2 separate regions of the Homo sapiens genome follow, and region 2 is linked to region 1. Evidence: promoter capture Hi-C in human tissues and cell types (Jung and others, 2019). All regions are on one chromosome and are shown on one strand. Each heading gives the region's core, a stretch centred on a gene start or on the middle of the fragment in contact. The rest is flanking DNA. Distances are from core to core; before and after follow the strand shown.

Region 1 (7,021 bases), core at 2,311-4,810:
ATATGAAGCTCTGGAAGATCACATTCACATGGAAAAGCACACAGTTGTCAAGAAATGATGCTTTTAATTAAGTAAAAGATCTATACCTGATTGGGATGATTACTTATGTTCTTGTCATTCTCTACTAGACACGACATCCTTGAGGATAGGGATATGACTTATTTGTCTATGTATCTTCAGGCTTAGTGCAATGCTTGGCATATAACAATAAAAATTTTTTTGAATGAATGACATTTAAAAAAATATAACACATAGAACTTACCATGTACCAGACACCTACCCAAATGCTTTACAAATATTAACTCATTTAATTCTTATTCTACAAAGAAAATTAAGGCACCGAGAAGTTACATTATGTGCCCAAATCACACAGATAGAAAGTTATGGAATCAGAAGTCAAACTCAAGCAGAGCTGTGCCAGAATTTGTACTCTTAACTTATATTATCTCTAAATAAATGCTGCTGTTAAGTTGTAAAAAATACAAATATGTAAATAAATATATAATGTAATCCATCATTGAACTTAAAAAGACCTGGGTTCAAATATATTTTTAATTTACTTGGTTCGTGGCTTTGAGCGAGTTCATTAATCTAATGGGTCCTCAATTTCCTCATACATAAAATAATGATAATAGCTTGTAACTCACAAGGCTACTCTTAGCTTAAAACATATTTTTTGTAAAAGTACTAGATTATCATTGGCACCGGGTATATGGTAGTTAGTGTGCCAAGGGGAATGATGCTATTTTCCTCTTTCTCCTCTTTCAAAAGGGTACGTATTTGTACTTTACACAGTATACAGGTCTTAAGCAAAAGGAGATGAAATTGTATGTTTCATCAAGTATTATTTTCAACATCTCTTAAAGCTGGAGTTCATTTACTAAAACATTTTCTGGATGGGCAGATCAATTTCAAACTCAATAGCTTGTTTTCTGGATAAAAAATGTTTTTCCGAGAAGCTGTTACGGTCTAAATATCTAACATCAAATATTAAAATATTTTTCTTCTAATTGTAAGATCAAGTTATACATATATATGTATGTTTATACATATATGTTTCTTTTTTTTAAAGAAAAAACTATTTGACCAGCGATATAACAAACAACATTTATTTTTATCAAAAGCCTCCCACATCAATGAGTTCTACCAAGTCTGGTGGAAACCCTCTTGGTCAGTGGCTCTCAATCCTGGTTGCATATTACAATCACCTAAAGAAATACATCAAATTGCAGACCCTTTCCACAGATATTCTGATTTGATTGAATTGGGGTAAGGCTGAGCATCCGTATTTTTTGAAAGTTCTCCTATTAACCCTAATTTGCAGCCCGAGTTGAGAATACTGATTTAGATTATCATTGAAACCATTACCGGTCTCCTATTTCCATTTCACTAGGACTCTAATAAAAACCAACAGTAGATAATATTTCCATTCATGTTAACATTGACAGAGTCTGAGAGGTTCATCAAGAACAGAATTGCCATGGCACAACTAAACTAATAGTTAGCTCCCTTTCTTCAACTGATTAGAGCAAATGCTCTCCATCCACCATCAATCATTACCTCCAGTTTCAAAATGAGAAACAGAAGACGTATTTATATCAGCTATTTCTTTTTAACTTTGAGAATCATGAAACAAAACAACTCCAAGATTATCTATGTGTTCTTATAAACTGGTTATAATGAAGATTTCTTGTTTACTTATTGTGTTGATGTAGCCAATGAATAAACTTAGAACATTTTATAATATGACCAGATATTATTCTTGGGCTATAGTTCATAAAATAAACTACAGGTTAGAGGCATTGAACCAGAACAAATCCTGGCTGATGGATGTTTTGAGTTATGTTAAAATATTGAGTAGAAATGAGTATCCACTGAGAATACCAACTTAAACTGTAAAGGTTTTACAAATCTAATCATCTTAGTTTCTCTCATAATACTGGTGTATAACCAGCAATCTCAACTTTTTAAAGCTGAGTTATTTTACTACTGAACTCATAGGCTAGCAATATCCTATTAGAAATTACACTTTATAAATTCCATAATACTAAAAGCATTCCTACTTTGTCCTTAATGGTAAGTCAACTGGCCCAAATACATAAAATATTTGCTTTCTATGATCATTTAAGACAGACTTAAACTCGGACGCTCTGTAATTTAAAGATTAGCTTTAAGAACTACATTGTAAAACTTTGACTTATTTTGAACATTTCACCTTCAATCACCGAATAATTTCAACAAATAGCCTTACATAGATAACTTGATTCCGGTTAACCACAGCCTGGAAATAGTCAGGGTCTCCTTAAGATCGGCAAGTGAAACCCTGCGTTCTCTTCTTGCATATGTCACATAGTATTAGGTTAAAGCTTTCATATGAAACTTTTCTTAGGTAGATTTGCCAAATAAAGTCTGTATGATAGTTTACTAATCTCAATTGTATTGTTGATTTTTGACTTGGACCTCAAGGAAAATGAATGTTTTGAGAAAAGGAATTAATTTGTTACAGCTTTTCTTGATGTCTTTCACCCAGGCTTGGGAAGAGCATCATGAAAAAGAGTACTCTTTTGGAAACTATGCACACAACATATTTTTCCTAATAGGTGTGAAGAATGGCTGCTATGCATAAATGATTGTTGGAAAACTATTCTCTGTAAAACATGACTTAACAAGCAACTCCATTCACTACTGTGCTCATTTCCAATATCCAGAACAACCATGACACATCTTATAGATGCTGATATTATATGTTTGTCAGTTAATAAACACCCTTTGGGAAAATTCACAACTTTAACCTCCGTAATTTTCCTACCCAATAAGTTGGAGAATAAAACTTTTGAGGGAAAATTGATATGAACAACATAGTAAAAGTCACAAGAAATCAAACGATTCTTCAATACGAAACCATAAGTTGTTGGCTCTTCCCAGGACACCTATTTTTCTTTTTTCTTTGACAAGGGTAAAGTAAAGCATCTAAGACCTAGCTGACCCTACATGAGAACCACAAGCACCGCAATCAAACCACATTTCTATAATCAAAAAGCAAGGTGCCTATAGCACCTGCACTGTTAAACATCCCTTGGACACCCCAAATCGTTAAGTCCCGCTCATTTCCAAACGCTCCTTACCTGGAATTCTGTCACTGGGCGGCTGGGCACAGCTCAATAGAAGCAAAGGGTGTTCGCAGGTGTGGCTCCAGGGACTCAGGCGCTCAAGCTTCAGCGCCCATCTCCTGGGCAGGAGATGTCAGCCGCAGGGTGAGGTGCGGACGTGCGCACTTCTCCAACCCGGGAAGGTCCGCCAGCCGCGCGGCGCAGCCCACCCAGACGCTGGTGGGCTGGCTTTCCTAGTTTGATGCGAGAGCAAACTGCGTTAGTCTCAGTCCTCCCTCTCCGCCCCTCTCCTGGTTTTCTGACACTTTAAATCTGTCTTAGGTGGTTCAGACCCAAGTCTAGGTTGTATTATCAGCTAAAAGACAACTGTTCTTTCCCCTGGCTTGCTTTCTACCTCCCCAGAGTCCAGGAGGCTCACCTTCCCGGCGCCTTCCTGCGCTCTCCCAGCTGTGAAGCTGTGCGCAAACTTCTCCTGACTTAAGAGTCTCAATCCTAGCCTGCGCTCCCGCCCCACCCCCGCCCGCCTCCCGACAGGCGGCAGAGGAGGTGGCAGCAGAATTGATGAGAGCCAGCCCCCCTTCCCGGACCCCGCCACCCCAGTCAGCCCCCTCCTGTCCCAGGAGAGGGAGGGGCGAGCTGGTGAGCTCCGTGCGCCTCGCGCCAGCCCCAGTCGCCCCGGCCCGCGAGTGGGGCTGCGCTCGCGGCTGCTGTCTCGCTCCAGTCAGGGCTGGGGCTCACCCTGCGAGTCCGGGAGACTAAAGCGCCGCGTAAACACAGGAAGCAGGCGAGGGACCCGAGTTAGACCTTGAGTAGGGAGGGAGAGGGGGGCGACAGTCTGGACTGGGAGACAGCTTTCTGGGAGCCCTGTCCCCTCCCCGGAGAATGCAAATTCCGGAGGGAGGTGAGTTTCCACAAGAACCTTATCCCAGAGACATTGTGACCCTGGCTTCTTCAGCCGCCACTCCGGGGACAGCACTAGGGAGCCTGTGGAGGGAGGGTCGGTAGTGGGCTAGGTAGTGAAAGTGGGGTGAGGACGTGGGAAGACGGCTGGCTAAGAGCTGGGGTGCTAAAAGGAAAAAAGTGCTGAGAGGAAGGAGATGAGAAGAGACACCTTGGGGGTCAGGCAAGCCCTGGGAAAGCGTCCGGAGTTGGGCGGCTGTAGGCTGGAGGCATAACTTGGATTTGGAGAAAGAGTGCCCTCCGTGTAGGGGACTGCTGGTGGGCACAGTGTTTTAGGGTGAATGAAAACAGAGAGGATGGCGAGGGAAGACGGGGATATGGGGTGCCTGACTTGGTGCCGGACACTGCGACTCCTCTTCTTTCCCCCTAAAGCCCTCGATGTCAGCAGGAGTCCGGGACAATCCAATACCAGGCGGGGCGCAGCGGAGGCTGGCAGGCACGCCCTGGGAGGCAGGCAAGTTGATTCCAAGGACGAGTCACCCTCAACCTCTTTTAGCCCACAACTGGGTGGATCAAGGCAGGAGCCAACACTTTTTTCCCTAACTCTGTTTAGGCGGTGTTGGACTAAGAAAACAGCATCCGGTGCGTCCCGGGACCACAAGGTGGCCGTGCACCGTCGAGGTTACTAAACACTGTCTCCTTGGCAAAAGAAATAATAGCAATCATTTAATGGGAGGGGAAGAAAGCCAGACGGCGACAGCACACTTTCCCTGGTGATCTTAGGTTCTCATAAGCACACGGGACAACACCGGGTGACAGAGAAGGAGGTGTCCTGTGAATGGAACTGCAGCCCTCACCCAACCATCCTTGGAGCTCTTCCATGGAAACATCAGTGACTGTAGGCAAAAAATGTCCCCGTTTTATTTTGCATGCTCCTGTTTTATTTTGAATCCTCATACCCCACCCCAGAGAGACAACAGGGACCCCTAATTTGTGTGGTTGAGGCTTTCAGGAGATCCAGTGGAGGACAGACTCAAGGATCAGATCAGCTCTCCCACCCAACATTCCAGGGATTTTGTTTTTCCAGGCTCCCTCCTCTATATACTCCCCCCTTCCCTGTCACCTCCAGTCTGGTGACCCAGAGGGCTGTGTGTGACTCACTGTGCATTCAAACCCTAAGGCACTGCCTCACTGCAGAGGAAGATTGTACAGTCCCTTCATTCCCAGGATAAGTGAGAATGATGTTGTTAGCAGTAAGAAATGTGACTAGGAAAGGAGGCTGGGCAACTGGGAGACAAGGAGGCTTTGAAAGGAACATACACACACACACACACACACACACACACACACACACACACACACACACACACACACACACAGACACAGTAACTTAAACAAAGCCTGTATAAGAAACCCTTCCGAATTCAGAACTTAGATAGGAATCTTCACTCCGTGCTGGGTTGGGCTCAATCTGTCTTGAGTTCAATAGCTCCCTGCTTTCCAACTGCTCCTGACCAGCCAACACTTGACCATGACCTCCTTTAAGAATTCTCTTTTGGAATATTAATTACCTTCTTTTGGTGCAAACAGCAGAGAAATATTAAAGTTGTTTGAGAGTCTCCTATGGTCAACTGCTGGGGCCAAACATTGAGAATTTCTCAGGTTGTAGCCCAAGTCACTGAAATAACAATGATTCAGGGAGACTATTGCTGAGTAGAAAGTGTTGCCGCCCTCGGCATTGTGTGATAGAACAAGTACAAGGAGATTTTTCCGCTGGAGGTTAAATCCTAGGGCAGCCTACCTGATATTGATAACCAGTATTCTGAGAGCAGGATGGGCTTGATTCTATAAATCTAATGAATATATGTGGGATGCAGCCCTTAACCATAATGTAAACAAAGTCTAAAAGTTATTGAGAAAAATGGCATGGGTGTATCATAAAACTTTAAACTGTTTGTGGTCTAAGCATAAGCAACCTCAGCTGATTAAAGTGTGAACTGTGTTAGATACAATATTGGGGGAAACAATGAGAGTTCTCTGTAGGCAGAATATTTCAGGGAAGGTGACACAGCAGAAGCAAGATCAGGGATGAAGCTCTCTTGTCCCCTAAGAAGATTAAATTGACTTTGTCAGTAACAGATATTTATTGAACACCAAAGGGGTTATGTACCTGTTGGAAACACTTGGATTTTACAGAAATTTAAGTCTACTGCTTTCTTAATATTATCACAGTATTTCCTACATGGACACAGTGTGGTAAGTTTTTGGAGGGTGGATGTTAACATGGGGATGGTCTGATAAGGGGAATTGGCATTGTTTTGAAAATGTTATGAGACCCATTACTGGATCTTGAAATCAAGTTAGTGGGCATAAGTAACATTTAAAAAATGAAGTGGAATAGGATAGAAAATATCAGAGTTCATCGCCATTTGAAAGCACAAGAGTGGTTTCTTGAAACTTGTCTTATTTCTCTCTCTCTCTCTATCTCTGTGTATGAAATTGCAAAGTAAAATGTATTTCTTTCTGTAGATCACAAAAATACCTAAAGACACTGGGTTAGAATAAGCTATTCTTCAAGTGGAATACCTTATATTTGCAAATAAGCTTTCAAATGAAATTAGTTCATCAAAGGGGCATTCATAAAATAAGCATCTTAAAATGTGGTAGTCACACATTCCTGGTACTTTTATTGATTATTTATTTTAAAATCCCCTGTCTTTATGATACTTTGCCCCTTTCTCTCTGTCCCTCTTCCTCTTTAGAAAATTTCCCCTTTGGACAGTTACTAATTTAGGGAGAAGTATTCTGTGGATCTTGTCTACAGACTTTTCAATGCAAACTCCACTTCAATTATGAAACCCTCCATCTACATTGCTGAGGGTGTGAAGTTCTGCCACTAGCAAAGGATTATCTGACCTCTCAACTCTGTCTTTCCAAGCAAGGTTTGCCAGAGTTTGAACCATACATACCACTTTCTGGACACTTATGGTTCGAGAATTCAGTGACTTTTC
Region 2 (7,021 bases), core at 2,381-4,880, 160 kb before region 1:
AAGAATAACTGGATATAACGAAGCTGGTACTGCTATCACACGCAGAAATTAAAACTCATTTTAACCTTTGTTTTCTTGTTTATTGACCCAAACTCAGAAATGGTCTCTGTCAATCGTAAGGTCACATAGGAGGACTGCTGATGGATGGTCAAGCCAAAATATCTCTTTAAAAGCTTTTGGTATGCCATGTATAAACTCATACTTGCTTAAGAAATTTCTGCAAAACAGATATTGCAGCCACATATTAGAGCAATCTGGTAAAGCAGTCTGTAGTGCTGACATGGTAAAAGAAAGTCCTGTGATGAGATATTTTGTTAACAGGTGTTATGTGTTTTTTGAAATGAGGATTTTCCAATAAAAAACAAGCCCCATATTCCCAATAACTGAATTATCTCCTAGCAGGAAGATCACACTGCTTTCATAAATAACATATCCTCACAATGAATAGTTTCATATAAAAAATGTCAAATACTCAAGTTCAGAGAAAGAGTGGAGCTTGGTGGCATATGTTGGTCACATGGCTTCTCAAACTAGTTCTCAAAAATCCATGTTTTTGTCACCATCCCTAGATATTCTAATTCCAGAGACTTGGAATGGGGTCTAAGAATCTGTATGTTTCATAAGCACATCAGCGATTGTGCTGCATGTGGTCCTCGGCGTCCACTGAGAAACACTGGTATATAAAGAGCACAGGTTATGGAGTCAGACTTAGAATTTTGGCTCCACCACTCACAACCAGTGTGACTTCATGTTTCTATATTTGTACAACCACTTATAGGTTCTTGTAAAGATTAAATGAAATAATATATGTACAATGACTGGCACACAGTAGGCCCTTGAAAAATGCTAATTCTCACACACAATAAAAAATATATACCTGTTTAGCTCACCTTTGTTGCCATTTGGGAGAGTAATTATGTCTTATCCCCTCAGTATAGGAAACTCAGCACCACCTGAAAAACTGCCTAAGTCTTCTTTTTCCTTTTGTGACTAGTTATATTTTCCCACAAAAATGCTAATGTGAAATTAACTTTTATATTTGCTAAAACTACTAGAAACTAGAAATAAATCCTTAAAAAGTCAAGATATACTTTATGTTCCTCCAAAGTATAGGGGCATTTTTTAGCCTACCAGGTTTCAACTATTAATATTAACTTTCATCAGACTTTTTCCCCTACAGGAATATTGAATGCAAGGTTCAATATGCCTTTGAGAACCATGTTTACATGTTGAAAATACTATTCAGAAGTTTATTTGATTTTAAAACTAATATTCAACTCATTAAAGTTATAAATTTAAAAGTCCAGTTTTTCTTTGTGCATTTAACTTCAGTTTAAAAATCTCATTATTCTATTCTTATGTCTACCAAATTTTAACAACTAATTTTAGAGGGCTTTATATAATGTTTGATCTCATTTATAACCTTAAACAACCTCAATATTTTAAACTGCACATATAAAATAAATGTATTCGATTTCTCTTTTATCTGACTCATCTAAGCAAATCTATTATGGAGCAATTTAGCTTATAAATGTAGTTATTCTAAATTTCCCTAAACATTTATACAGTATATATCAACTCAGCAAGACTTCCACTAACAAGTTCAAGTCTAAATCAGTTAGTACAAACTTTGAATTGAAATCACAAGGTTAACCTGTCACTTAAAAATATTTATTTTATTGTAGTAAGAATGCTTAACATGGGTAGATCTCTACCCTCTTAATATATTTTTAAAGTACACAATACAGTATTATTAACTATAGGTACTATGTTGTACAGCAGACCTATAGAACTTACTTACCTTCTATAACTGAAACTTTATGCCTGTTGATTGGCAACTCCCATTTCCCCTTCCCCTCAACTTCTGGTAACCACTATTCTACTCTCCGACTCCATGAGTTTGATTATTTTAGATACTTCATATAAGTGCAATCATGAGCTACTTGTCCTTCTGTCACTGGCTTATTTCACTTAGCATAAAGTTTTCAAATTTCATCCCTGTTGCTAAATGTTGCAAAATTTCTTCCTTTTTTAAGGCTGAATATTATTCCTCTGTATTATTAATAATTAATGCTACATTTCTTCATCCAGTCATCCACTAATGGACATTTAGGTTGTTTCCACAACTTTGGGTATTGTGAATAGTGCTGCAATTAATATAAAACTGCTAATAGCTCTTTGAAATCCTTATTTTCATATTTTAATTTTAAATTTTTTATTCATTTTAATTGACAAATACAAATTGTGTATATTTATCATGTACAACATGATATTTGAAATATGCATATATTTTAGAGTGGCTAAATTGAGCTAATTAATATAGACATCTCACATCCTTTTTTAAAGTGGTGAGAACACTTAAAATCTACTGTCTTAGCAATTTTCATGTTTTGAAATACATGTATTTTTATGCCTTGAAATACAATATATTGTTATTAACTATAGTCACCATGTTGTGCCACAGATCTCTTGAAATTATTCCTCCTGTCTAACTAAACTTTGGTATCATTTAACCAACATCTCCCCAACAGCCTCCCCCAACCGTTACCATTCTACTCTCTTTAAGATCAACTTTTTTGGATTCCACATATCAGTGAGATCATGTGGTATTTGCCTGGCTTATTTCATTTAACCTAATGTCCTCCATGTTCATTCATGTTGTTGCAAATGACAGGAATTTCCTTTTTTAAAAAGGCTGAATAGTATTCCATTGTGTATATATACCACATTTTCTTCACCTGTTCATCCTTGGCTATTGTGAATAATGCTTCACTGAACATAGATGTGCAGATATCTCTTTGACATACTGACTCCATTTCCTTTGGTAGTACCCACTAATGCTTTTGCTGAGTCATATGGTAGTTCTATTTTTAATTTCTTTAAGAACCTCCATACTAGTTTCCCTAATAGCTGTACTAATTTACATTCCAATAGTATGCAAGGGTTCCCTTTTCATCATCCTTGCCAATGTTTACCTTTCATCTTTTTGATAATAGCCCTTCTCACAGGTGTAAATTCATAGCTCATTGTGGTTTTATTTGCATTTCTCTGATGATTCATGATGTTAAGCAATTTTATCTGCTTGCCATTTGTATGTCCTCTTTTAAGAAATTTCTATTCGGGTCATTTGCCCATTTTTAATCAGATTATTTGTTTTCTTGCTATCAAATTGTTTGAGTTCCTCATATATTTTGGATATTAATCCCTTGTCAGATATATGATTTGCAAGTATTTTTTTTCCCACTCCATAAGTTGTCTCTCCTGTGTGTTGACTTTCTTTTTCTGTGCAAAAGCTTTTTAGTTTGATGCAACCCCAACTGTTCAGGTTGCTTTTGTGTTAATATCCAAACAGAAAAATCATTGCCCAGATCAATGTCATAGGGTTTTTCCCTATGCTTCCTTCTAGTAGTTTTACAGTTTCAGATTGCACATTTAAAACTTTAATCTATTTTGAGTTGATTATTGTATACAGTGTGAGATAGGATCAAATTTACAATAACTACAAAAAATATTCAGGAATGAATGTAACCAAGGAGGTGAAAGACCTGTACACTGAAAACTTAATAGTTTTCAAAAATAATTTCATGAAAAGTAATTTCATGAAAAATAATTTCATTTAAAAATTAAAGAAGACACAAATAAATGGAAAGATAACCCATGTCTATGAATTGGAAAAGATAATATTGTTAAAATTTACATATTTCCCAAGGCAATCTACAGATTCAAACCAATCCTTGTCAAAATTCTAATGACACATTTTCATAGAAATAAAAAAAAATCCTAAAATACGTATGAAACCCCCCAAAACCCCAAATAACCAAAGCGATCCTAAGCAAAAAGAACAAAGCTAGAAACATCACACTATCTAATTTCAAGATATACTGAAAAGTTAAAGTAATCAAAACAGTATTGTACCAGCCTAAAAACAGACATATACACTGATGGAACAGACCAGAGAACACAGAAATAAATCCACTCATTTATGGCCAATTAATTTTGACAAAGATGCCAAGAACACACAATGCAGAAAGAACAGTCTCTTTAACAAATAGTGATGGAAAAACTTGATATGCACACGCAGAGGATTGAAATTATACCCTAATTTCACTTCTTTTGGATAAATACTGAGAAGTGTGTTTACTGGATCATATGGTAGTTCTATTTTTAATTTTTTGAGAAACCTTCATACGGTCATAGAGACTATACTATTTTGCATTCCCACCAACAGTATACAAGGACTGCAATTTCTTCATGTTTTTGCCCATACTTATCTTTTTTTTTTTTGATAATAGTCATCCTAAGAGATGTGAGGTGACATCTAATTATGGTTTTGATTTGCATTTACCTGATGATTAGTGATGGACATTTTTTCATATACCTGTGTTGCCCATTTGTATGCCTTCTTTGGAGAAATGTCTATTGAAGTTTTTAGCCCATTTTTAAACTGGATTAGTTTTTTTTTTTGTTATTGAGTTGTAGGAGTTCCTTATATATTTTGGGTATTTATGCCTTCTCAGATATATAGTTTACAAATATTTTCTTCCATTTCATAAGTTGCCTTTTGCTCTGTTGATTATTTCCTTTGCTGTGCAGAAACTTTTTAGACTGATGTAATTACATTTGTCTGTTTTTTCTTTTGTTGCTGTGCTATTGGTGTCATATTTATAATCCTTGTCAATACCAATGTCATGAAGCTTTTCTCCAACATTTTCTTCTATTAGTTTTACAGTATCAGTTCTTACGTTTAAGTCTTTAATCCATTTTGAGTTGATTTTTGTTTATGGTGTAAGCTAAGGGTCCAATTTCAGTCTTTTGTAGGTGGATACTCAGTGTTCCCAACACCATTTGTTGAAGAGGCTATCCTTTCCACATTGTGTTTTCTTCACATCCTTGTTGAAATTCAATTGGTCATATATGCATGGATTTATTTCTGGGCTCCCTATTCTGTTTCATTTGTCTATCTACTTGTCTTTATGCCAGTACTATTCTGGTTTAATTATTTTAGTTTTGTAATACATTTCAAAATCAGAAGGTGTGATGCCTCCAGCTTTGTTCTTTTTTCTCAAGGTTAATTTGGCTTTTCAGAGTCTTTTGTGGTTCCACAGGAATTTCAGAATTGCTTTTTCTATTTCTGCTAGAAAATTCCATTGAGATTTTGGTAGCAATTGCATTGAATCTGTCTATAACTTTGGGTAGTATAGAAATTTTAACAATATTAAATCTTCCAATTCATGAACACAGAATTTCTTTCCATTTTTGTGTGTATTTTAAAATATATTTTATCAATATTTTCTCATTCTTAGTGTTAAAATATTTCCCCTCTTTAGTTAAGGTTATTTCTAAGATTTTCTTTTTGGTGTTATGTTATTTTAAACCAAATTATATTCCTAATTTCCTTGTCAGTGAGTTTTCTATGTATAAGATTATGTCCTCTGCAAACTGGGACAATTTACATCTTAATTTAGATTTTTTTAAAGATTTTTTCTTCTTTTTATTGTGGGCATTTAGTGTTATAAACTTCTCTTTTATTACTGCTTTTGCAGCATCACATAAGTTTTCGTATGCGGTGTTTTCATTTTTGTCTCAACATATTTTCAAATTGCTCTTTTGATATTTTTCTTTGACCTAGTGTTTGACATTACTGTTAAACAATCTTATGTTGGAAGCAAGAAATGTTTCTAAATAACTCTTACTTTTTAAAGAATATTAAGAATTATAGAATGGTGCCTCAGTGTCAGGTTAGTTTTAACTAATATGGTTAATTTTGTTAGTTTTGGTTTTGTTGGTTTTCTCTCTTGCTCTTTCTCTCTCTCATTCCTTATTTCACTGATTTCTATTTGAAACACTTGTCCCTTTGTGATATGTGTTTGATGAGTTATTTTAGAACATTCGATTCTGCTATAGAACGTGGAAAGTGAAAAAGAAGTATGAATAACAAGTAGTTAGTAAACTGTGAGATATATTAGACATAGAATGAGTTGAATACAGCAGATGTGTGTTTAACATAGACTTAAATCTTCTACCCCTGGTGACACCTATTCTACTTCTTGTGTCCTTTGCCCAAGAAGTGCAGATAAAACCCATAGTTGATAATAATTAGAAAGCTCAACAGTAGCCACAAGTACTTGTCCCTGCAACTCCTTGATAGAGTAAGTACCATATGTTGGCTCTAGTCACCTTTCATACCCTGTATCCCATTGCTCAGACCTCAACTCTGGTTTCTCACATCCACATCTTCAGCAGGGAATACGTGATTAGAGAGGACATGTGAACACTGTACCCAAGGATTCACGTACTGTGGCTATACCATCATGCTAATGCCCTATCCTAAGTGTGCTAACCTACCTCATCTCCTTCCCAAAGCTTCCCACTAAGTGTTTTCAATTGCTTAAGTAAACTGTGTGACTTGAGCATCTTAATTTAGTCTGTGAGCCTTTCTAGGATAGCTTGCTTGAAAATATACTTGGAGGTTATTTTTACATGAAGGTAATGTCTCATACGACATTACCCTTCTCGTGTTTTTGCTTTTACTCTGTTGCTCACTTTCTGATTTCTTCTTAAAGGTATCTAAAGTTTAAGCTTCCTTCTAGGAACTGCTCTAGGCATGTTCCATAAATTTAGAGATGTAATGGTTTCTTTATTGAAGTAGTATTAATACAGTTGGCCCTCCATAGTTGTGGATTCCACACCTGCAGATTGAACCAACTATGGATGAAAAATATGTTTAAAAGACAGTACAATTAACAATATGATTGAAAAAATACAAATGAAAAATATATTATAATAACTATTTATGTATTATTTATGCTGTATTAGGTATTATAAGTAATCTAGAGATAATTTAAAGTATATGAAAGGATGTATGTAGATTGTATGCAAATACAGCTCCATTTTATATAAGGAACTTTAGCATCCTTGGATTTTGGTATGAGGGAGGGGTTCTAGAACCAATCTCCTGGTGGACATCCAGGGACAACTGTAGGTAAAACTAATATGTTGCTGGTATAAGATCGGTACCATT

What was found. Contacts are between HindIII fragments. The study calls those that stand out against the background at their distance.
Region 2: a fragment that was not itself captured here is called in contact with the fragment with the promoter of CALCR in region 1 in 3 of the 25 tissues and cell types used here (H1 embryonic stem cells, lymphoblastoid cells and mesendoderm cells).

The regions. Positions count from the first base shown.
Region 1 is chr7:93,571,164-93,578,184 of GRCh38, forward strand. It overlaps CALCR (calcitonin receptor), which reads right to left and starts at 3,561. Exons shown (of 14, transcript NM_001742.4): 1 at 3,529-3,561; 2 at 3,126-3,343. The HindIII fragment of the contact is 4,570 bases long and covers 2,790-7,021 here.
Region 2 is chr7:93,411,857-93,418,877 of GRCh38, forward strand. No RefSeq gene overlaps it. Among named protein-coding and RNA genes, the nearest start is that of MIR653, 67 kb to the right of the region's middle. The HindIII fragment of the contact is 3,795 bases long and covers 1,734-5,528 here.